2 separate regions of the Homo sapiens genome follow, and region 2 is linked to region 1. The links are contacts of gene promoters, found by promoter capture Hi-C in blood cells and fetal thymus (Javierre and others, 2016). All regions are on one chromosome and are shown on one strand. The core of a region is centred on a gene start or on the middle of the fragment in contact, and the rest is flanking DNA. Distances in the headings are between cores, read along the strand shown. Region 1 holds the start of MTHFR (methylenetetrahydrofolate reductase). Region 2 holds the start of DFFA (DNA fragmentation factor subunit alpha).

Evidence for each region. The method cuts DNA at HindIII sites, captures the fragments that hold promoters and counts their contacts. A CHiCAGO score of 5 or more calls a contact.
Region 2: a contact is called between the fragment with the promoter of DFFA here and the fragment with the promoter of MTHFR in region 1, in 1 of 17 cell types (total CD8 T cells). The highest score is 6.8, in total CD8 T cells.

The regions. Positions count from the first base shown.
Region 1 is chr1:11,803,877-11,808,573 of GRCh38, reverse strand. MTHFR (methylenetetrahydrofolate reductase) reads left to right here and starts at 2,610. Exons shown (of 12, transcript NM_005957.5): 1 at 2,610-2,686. It overlaps CLCN6 (chloride voltage-gated channel 6), which reads right to left and starts at 2,383. Exons shown (of 23, transcript NM_001286.5): 1 at 2,225-2,383; 2 at 1,384-1,443. The coding sequence starts at 2,311. RefSeq lists enhancers at 1,836-1,905, 2,356-2,435, 2,446-2,555, 1,753-2,738, 4,680-4,697 and 1 more and silencers at 2,086-2,135, 2,806-2,855, 2,876-2,925. The HindIII fragment of the contact is 7,586 bases long and covers 1-3,727 here.
Region 2 is chr1:10,469,995-10,474,691 of GRCh38, reverse strand. DFFA (DNA fragmentation factor subunit alpha) reads left to right here and starts at 2,163. Exons shown (of 6, transcript NM_004401.3): 1 at 2,163-2,369. The coding sequence starts at 2,234. RefSeq lists enhancers at 1-633, 2,595-2,694. The HindIII fragment of the contact is 4,411 bases long and covers 1-3,532 here.

The DNA.
Region 1 (4,697 bases), core at 1,361-3,860:
CAAGAAAACTGGAAAATCTGGACAGTAGATATTTGATATCAAGAAATTCCTAATTTTTTAGATGTGGTAATAGTATTGGGTTATGCTTTTTAAAAGTCCTTATCCATTAGAGATGCATATAGAATTATGGGTGAAATAATATGATGTACAGAATTTCTTTCAAAATAACATGGGAAGGGCGGCCAGGTATGGTAGATCATGACTGTAATCCCAGAACTTTGGGAGGCTGACATGGGAGGATCGCTGGTGTCAAGGAGTTCGAGAACAGCCTGGGCAACATAGGGAGACTGTCTTTACTTTAAAACACACACACACACACACACACACACACACACACACACACACAAACACACACACACATACAATAAAAAATAATAATATGAGAAAGGAGAAGTGGATAACGAAAGCACAGACAAAAGAAGACTGGGCTTGAGCTAAATCACTGTGGAAGCTGTGTGATGAGGACAAGGGGTTTCAACAGATTATTCTGTTTTTGCATATAGTTGAAATCCTTCATAATAAAAGTTAAACAAAAAAGTGCTACAAATCCTAACGCTGACACTAAATTCTACAGCATGAAGAATTTATGGAAGAGTGAGACTCTGTCAAAAAAAAGAAAAGGTTGTGGAAAATTACCTAATGATACAAAAAGTATAATAAAGGGGGTGAGTGGGACAGGTTAAAATAGATGATTTAGTGGAATCTCATTTTTGTTACTTAAAAAAAGCATGTATCATGTATATAAAAGCATGGGTAAGGATGTAGAAAGATACTTAGTAAGGTGTTAACAGTCATCTTTTAATGAATGGAGTTATAGGCTTTTCTCTACCTTCTTTATTACGTTTAAGAATTTAATGATAAAAAGTCACGCATGTTGTTTCACCCCAGCAGTGTTGGCTTTACTAAAAACACATACTCTAAGAATCCCATACATGAAAGGTGGAACTTAATCAAGAACATGTCAGAGAGAAGCTGCTTGAGCAAGAAAATATCTGAAAAGCAAGCTCTCCTAGAAGAGAAGCAAGGCCTCCTTAACAGTTTATAAGCACACACCTGTTAGGGGCACATACTGCCTGCCAGTGCCTTTCACTCTAAGTCTCTCTGTAAGCTGTAAAAGCAAACAGTTTAATGGCAAATACATACTCTATCCAGGTTAAGGTGCCACAGATTTATAAACGTGTAAAAACACCAGACCTTGTTTTGGGGTTAAGGTGAGAAAAGGGCTTGCTAAACAGTCTCTTTCCTAGAAGGAAGTTCTCTTACCCACTCACTCCCTGGGACAGAAGGTCAAAGAGCATCTCTGGTTGGAATCATAATGCTTCGGCCTGAAGTGACCAGGCCACTCACTACTTTAGTTGCCCAAGCAGTATCAAAGGAGCTCACCTCATAGTCTTTCCTTGGAAGAATCTCATCCTCCTCCTCCTGTGTTTCTCCAAGGATGGTCTAGAAAAACAGATCCGCAGAGGGAGCCTTTTTTAGTGGTTAGGAGTGGAAGGAGGCAGAAGTATTTACTGAAATCAGTGGCTAGCTTCTAAATCATCTGGAGCCATTATCAAATAGGAACCAGCCCTCAAAAAAAACCTTTCAGGGGTGAGGGACCATGTGGGTGAGGATCTACAGCCATCAGCTGAGCTCTTCATTTCCACTGATAGTCTCCAAATAACCACCCTCCTCTTCAGGACACCTCAAAGATGTCCAACGCCAGCTGAAAAGGGGGGTAAAAATGCAGGTTCCATTTGACAGTGTGACGTATCTGAAATCAGAAAGGACTTGTCAACTCTGGGAACACAACTCAAGTTTTCCCAGGATGCTTTGCAGGGGGAAGCTGGACTGTCAGTGACCCAGAAAGGGTGAGGGATAGAGTGAGAAAGGACTGGAGAAGCTAAAACAGCAGCATGATAAGCACAAAGTCCTGTGAGGAAGCTCATTCTGAAAACGCTTGTTTCATTCCAAACTCTTTTCAGATGGAAATAAAAGGAAACATGGGTGGGATTTACTGGAGCTGGCCTGGATTCTCCCTCAGATTCCAGGAGGGGTTATGAGAAAAGACCCCAGACTTAGGCACGTGAAGCAGGGTAGACGCTTCGAGAGCCCTGGCTGCGGTCCCCAGGCCCCACCCGCTGCCACCTGCGGGCCCAGATTGGCCCGGCCCCACCCCCGGCAACGCCTCTCTCAGTCCCTTAGCAACCGCCCCCTCCCCAGGCCGACTCCGCCGGCTTCTTACCAGCTCCTCGGGGGTGCGGGTCTCACGCTCACCGCAGCAGCAGCACCACCTGCAGCAGCAGCACAGAGACCCCCTGCACCCCGCCATCTTCCTCCTTTACTGCCACTCTGGACCCCTCTACCAACCCCCTCCCAGCCAGGATCTGCGCCTCACGTGACTGGCCCCGGGACGGTCACGTGGCCCTCTCGAGCTCTGGGACTGAGACCAGGAGTGGCTGCAGACGGGTGGGGCGAGGACTCGCGTCACATGACGATAAAGGCACGGCCTCCAACGAGACCTGTGGGCACGGCCATGTTGGGGGCGGGGCTTCCGGTCACCCGCGCCGGTGGTTTCCGCCCTGTAGGCCCGCCTCTCCAGCAACCTGACACCTGCGCCGCGCCCCTTCACTGCGTTCCCCGCCCCTGCAGCGGCCACAGTGGTGCGGCCGGCGGCCGAGCGTTCTGAGTCACCCGGGACTGGAGGGTGAGTGACGGCGAGGCCGGGGTCGCCGGGAGGGAGATCCTGGAGCCGGCAAACAACCTCCCGGGGGCAAGGACGTGCTTGTGGGCGGGGAGCGCTGGAGGCCGGCCTGCCTCTCTTCTTGGGGGGGGCTGCCGCCTCCCTTGCGCACCCTTCGCGGGATTAGTGTAACTCCCAATGGCTACCACTTCCAGCGACCGCCAACCCTCAAGCGAAGACTGACTTTGGCTCCCTGCCTGGACGGAGGGGCCCCTGAGCCAGGGGTGACGATCCCGCCCCTCTGACCGGCCCAGGCCCGTGTCCTCGCCCCCATCGGTGACTCAGTGACCTGGTGACTGGATTCTCGGCCACCTGGGCGCCGAGACGGCTTCCGGCTCCTGCCTTTTAAACCTGCCTCCCCGGCGATCACCTGGAGAAGAGCGCTGGGCCCGGGGCACTGCGGTCCCTGGCGCCCACTGCGTCCCGCTGCGCACGGGGGTCCGCCGGGACCTTTCTGGGAGTCGTAGGCTTAGTATCCCAGTGCTTGGCGCAGACTAGTTGTTCAGTAAGTGGCAGAGGCTTATTTTGAGAGAGTGGCAGCACCTGGCCCTTTGGCGCTCAGTGAATGTTGGCTATCACCGTGTGCCAAACTCTGGGGATACCCCAGGCAGGACACCGGTCCTGTCTCAGGGAACTGGGGAAAGAGAAAGGAGACAGGCCTTTTCACCCACAGTTACAACCCAGGGTGCTATGGGAGTCCAGCTGATAACGGATAAATCGTGGGAGTTGGCTTACAAATATGGCACATGCGTGGCATATACTAGGAATGCAATAAGTCTTTGAAAATCAGAGGGTTTACAGGTGGTTCAGCTTCCTCCTACTCTAGGTTCTGTTCCAGCAAGCAATTAACGAGGTGCGCCCTTAAACGCTGGAGGAAAGCCAACTGGCTGCTCTTGCTGTTACTCCTCCCCCCCGCCCCCGTTCCTCACTCCCCACAGCCATCCCCACTGAGAATCTGGAGTTTGAGGTCAGAATGAAAGAGAGCAGCCCTAGAGGGAGAAAGCTTTGGCCCAGGGTTCTTAGTCTGGAATCAACTCCTTGTCTTTGGATGTATCCCCGTGTAGTCTGTGCACCTGTGTGTGTATTTCAGGGGAAGGGAGCAGTGCATTTAATCAGATTGTCAAAAGAGTCTAAGACCCCAAATGGTTAGGTACACAGGGTTAGTGGTGGACAGTCTGAAAGAAATGAACCTCACCTGGGCTTTCCTCTGTTGTGCCATGTCACCACACACCCATTCACTACTGTGTGTTTGCCCATTGCTGTGCAAGTGTTTTGTTTGTTTTTAAGTGTTTGTCTTATTTTCTTAACCAGACTGCCAGATGACCCTATGCCCTCTGTTGGCCTGTCTGTGCCCTGGTGGCTCTGATTACTTGTTTCTGTTTTTTGTTTTTGTTTTTTTTTTTGAGATGGAGTTTTGCTTTTGTCGCCCAGGCTGGAGTGCTATGGCACAATCTTGGTTCACTGCAACCTCTGCCTTCCGGGTTCAAGCGATTCTCCTGCCTCAGCCTCCAGAGTAGCTGGGATTACAGGCGCCCGCCACCAAACCTGGCTAATTTTTATATTTTTAGTAGAGTCGGGATTTCACCATGTTGGCCAGGCTGGTCTCAAACTCCTGGCCTCAGGTGATCCACCCACCTCGGCCTCCCAAAGTGCTGGGATTACAGGTGTGTTTTTTGTTTTTTTAAGAGATGGAGTCTCGCTATGTTGCCCAGGCTGGCCTTGAACTCCTGGGCTCAGGCAATCCTTCTGCCTCAGCCTTCCCAGTAGCTGGGTCACTGTGATGATTTGAATTGAATTCTGTGATGTGTAAGAAGAGCAGCCTGCAAGGCAAGCACAGATGGGGCAGCTTTTGTTCTGAGAAATTCGTGCCCTTACTGAACTTGGGTCTGGCTATTTTTGGAACATGGCCAGCATCAAGTTCTAACCCACAACACGGTCTTTTTGGAGTAGCATGAATTCAGGAGAAATCTGGCTG
Region 2 (4,697 bases), core at 914-3,413, 1.3 Mb after region 1:
TTGCCTAGGCTGGAGTGCAATGGCGCGATATCGGCTCACCGCAACCTCAGCCTCCCGGTTTCAAGTGATTCTCCTGCCTCAGCCTCCCGAGTAGCTGGGATTGCAGGCATGCGCCACCATGCCCGGCTAACATTGTATTTTTAGTAGAGATGGAGTTTCTCCATGTTGGTCAGGCTGCTCTCGAACTCCCGACCTCAGGTGATCTGCCCGCCTCGGCCTCCCAAAGTGTTGGGATTACAGAAGTGAGCCACAGCGCCCGGCCCATATTATTCTTATTGAGTTAATCTCTGCCCATCCCCACAGTGCCATGGGCACATTTAGGGACTTGCCAATGGATGAATGCGAAGAAACTTGGAAATTAATTTTTAGACATCAGTTCAGTTCCATTCATTGAGTGCCTACTATATGCTAGGGACTTTGGTAGGCCTTGAAATAAAAACATTCAAGACTCAATCCCTACTCCCACGCCCAGGCCAAACACACTTACAATTACAGTATTATGGGGATAGGACTCGGATAAGTGTGCAGGTCTATTGGGAGAACATAAAAGGGGGCATTTTGAAGAGAAGAGGCTTCTACAAAACGTCATTATTTTACACTGGTTGAATTGTTAGATTTTTTTAATTGTTAGATTTTAAATTAAATATTGGACGGGAGCAGTGGCTCACACCTGTAATCCCAACACTTTAGGAGGCCAAGGCAGGAGGATCCCTTGAGCCCAGGAGGTTGAGGCTGCAGTGAACTATGATTATGCCACTGCACTCCAGCCTGGGCGACAGAGCGAGACCTTGTCTAAAAATAAGATAAGAAAATAAAAAATGAAATTATATGAAAAAGGATACATACATTAGAGTTAACCGCCAGCTCCTATTATAGTTGTGTTTTGATCAATATAGACTGCTTAAAAGGGATGACTTAATGAATAATTCCTCCTACTAAACGCTGTTTTAAATGTCTAAACTTTTCTTGAGATAATATCCAATTTCCTCTCCCACGTTTTTTTTGTTTGTTTTTGCTTTTGTTTTTGTTTTTGCTTGAGACGAAGTCTTGCTCCTGACGCCCAGGCTGGAGTGCAATGGTGCGATCTGGGCCGACTGCAACCTCCGCCTCCCGGGTTCAAGCGATTCACCTGCCTCAGCCTCCCAAGAGCTGGGACTACAGGCGTGCGCCATCACGCCCGGCTAATTTTTGTATTTTTAGTAGAGATAGGGTTTCACCATGCTGGCCAGGCTGGTCTCAAACTACTGACCTCAGATCATCTGTCCGCCTCGGCCTCCTAAAGTGCTGAGATTACAGGGGTGAGCCACCGCCCCCGGGGCCCTTGCCCACGTTTTTATAAACAAAATATGAGGTGGGAGGATTGCTTGAGCCCAGGAGATCAAAACTGCAGTGAGCCATCATCGCGCCACTGCACTCCAGCCTGGGAGACAGAGCGAAACGCTGTCTCAAAAAAAGAAAAAAGAAACAAGGAAGGAAAGTGTCCCCCGAATGAATAAATATGAGCAGATAATTACTTCTAGTTTACATAAAATGCCCTCTTTTAAGAGAGGAACTTTTTGATCATTTTTATTACTATTCTTTTAATCTTAGATGTTTATTTTTCAGGAGGAAAAAAACAAACTTTTCCATAGTAGCAGTATTAAAACAAAGATGAATATGTTGTCAAGAGGCATCTGAACAATCTCCAACAGTGCCGAGTCGCATTTCCCCTTTCCTCTCCGATGCATTTGAGACTTTAATGCTTACTATATTTATTTAAGCGTTTTGTTCTGAGACCCCAAACTAATTTGCACAGTTGAAGCAGGAAATAGAATGGGTGGAAACATGCGGGTGTCTGTATTAGCATTATGCATCTCATATGCGAATAGGAATGCTCTAAAAATTCAATACAGTATACATGCGTGTGCATCGTCATGCAAAATAAGTCTCTATTGGCCTTATATTTGAACGCGCGAATGCAGCTCCTAAAAGTTAAAAACAACTCCTAGGCTGAATCGCGCGATAGAACGAAAGCGGCTTTAAACCCAGAGACTACAGTTTCCGGCATGCTTCGACGCCACACGTGATTAGCGGCAACTAGAACTACATTTCCCGGCGTGCCCTGGTCTCACGTGTGATTTGCTGCGGAACGAACTACATCTCCCGGCAGGCTGCGGAAGGGGGTCGAGTAGAAGGACCGCCGCTCCGGCCTCCCGCGACTTCTCGAAGGTGGGCAGGTCCCACCTTGTGGAGGATGGAGGTGACCGGGGACGCCGGGGTACCAGAATCTGGCGAGATCCGGACTCTAAAGCCGTGTCTGCTGCGCCGCAACTACAGCCGCGAACAGCACGGCGTGGCCGCCTCCTGCCTCGAAGACCTGAGGAGCAAGGGTTGGCTCGGGACCCCGGGCGAGGGTGTGGGGGAGCCAGGGCCGGGTGAGGACGTCCGGCGGGGGCGAGGCGGGGTCAGGAGAGGCGACTTGGGGATTCTTGTATCTCGGGTGGAGGCTTGGGACAGAAACGGTCCGAGTGGGCATAGCGATTTACAGATTTAAGGCGCTTGAGCGTAATTAATCTCGTGTGAGACTCCACGGTGGTGGGAAGACAGCCAGGAAGCAATGTGCAAATTAAGCCAGACTCGGCTTAGGTCTCTTGCCTGAAATCACTTCGATGTTGGACCAAACGGACCCCACTGGGTTCCTGCCACTCCGCCACACTCAGATGGTACAAGAACCCCCAGCTGAGCCCACGGCGGTGTGGGGAGGGGTTTCCACCGTCCGCTCTGGCAGGAACCTATGCAGGAAAGAGGGAGCTGCTACTGACCATTTCTGGAGGTCCAGACAAGGAACGTGAGTTGTAAGTGACGGAGCCGACGGAAGTTCCGAGCCCGGCCCCATACCTTTACCAGCTGCTTGGCCTTGCACTTAACCAGCTCTCAACCCTCAGTTTTCTCATCAGCAAATTGGGTATAATATTTATAGCCCTGCTTCAAAGGGTTGTTGGTTCTCTCAAATAAGATGATATATTTAAGTGACTTACAAGTCTTATTAGCCAGTAGCAACAAATCGCTTACCCAAAGAAGTTTTACAGGTTACATGTGTGAGCCAGCCCCAGGCATGTAGTCACAGTGTGTGTCAGAGGGCACAGTTGCTTCCTCTCAGTCACCAACAGAAATCATATGGAAATTTTCAGAGACCCATGAACAGCCAAAGCATTATAAATGCTTTGGTAACATGGATTTTGCATATAAGCATTTATGTATTTTTTTTCCTGACATTAGATTACTTTACTTCTAATTCCCCTTCAGTGCCGTGGCTGGATGTGCGTGGCACAGAGGCTGGTGTTCTCTGCAGTCCAGCGCATACATGCCTTGCTGTTCTATTGGGTGGTAGACAACACCGCTGAAGGATATTTGTAGTCTCTTGGCTATTTCTGATCACTCCAGTCCCGTTAGTATTTGAAGCATTGCTATCACTAAATGGAATAGTACAGACCTGTCCTGGAGAAAGCCTCTCCGCCAATGATAATGATATGAAAAGCTACTGATAGAAGCTTCCACTTCTTTTATACTTTCCCATAGGTTAGAAAAGAAGCTGCTAAGGAAGATACTGTAAAGAACAAAAAGCATTTTCTTTTTTTTTTTTTTTTTTTGAGACGGAGTGTCACTCTGTCACCCAGGCTGGAGTGCAGTGGCGCTATCTCGGCTCACTGCAAGCTCCGCCTCCCGGGTTCACTCCATTCTCCTGCTTCAGCCTCCCGAGTAGCTGGGACTACAGGCGCCCACCACCACGCCCATCTAATTTTTTGTATTTTTTAGCAGAGACGGTTTTTCACCATGTTAGCCAGGATGGTCTCGATTGCCTGCTTTGTGATCCACCCGCCTCGGCCTCCCAAAGTGCTGGGATTACAGACGTGAGCCACCGTGCCTGGCCTTTTTGGTGTATTTTTTGACATTTTTACACATAGGAGAATTTAAGAGGACACCTGAGGGCCGGGTCCGGTGGCTCACACCTGTAATCCCAGCACTTTGGGAGGCCGAGGTGGGCGGATCACGAGGTCAGGAGATCGAGACCATCCTGGCTAACACGGTGAAACCCCGTCTCTACTAAAAATACAAAAAAATTAGCCGGGCGTGGTGGTGGGCGCCTGTAATCCCAGCTACTCCGGAGGCTGAAGCAGGAGAATGGCGTGAACCCGGGGGGCGGAGCTTGCAGTGAGCCCAGATAGCGCCTGGGCACTCCAGCCTGGGCGACAGAGTGAGACTCCGTCTCAAAAAAAAAAAAAAAAAAAAGAGGAAAACTGAATAAATGAATGAGAGACTGCTTGTTTGCAAGGAATCAAACTAGACTTTGATTGGTTGTTCACTCCAGTAAAAACTCAAATGCCTACCATACATGAGTGTGGAGTAGCTGGAGTAAACATACTTTCAGGAGCCAGACTTTGTGGGTTTAAATCCCAGCTTTGCCACTTACTGTGTGATCTTAGACAAGTTACTTAACCTCTCTGAGCCTTGGGTTCATCATCTATAAAACAGAACTAATAAAAGTACCTACTTTACAGGATTATTATGAGATTAAATACTGTATATGAAAAGCACTTAGGCCAGGCGCGGTTGCTCATGCCTGTAATCCTAGCACTTTGGGAGGCCGAGGCAGGTAGATCATTAAGTCGGGAGTTCCAGACCAGACTGGCCAAGATGGTGAAACCCCGTCTCTACTA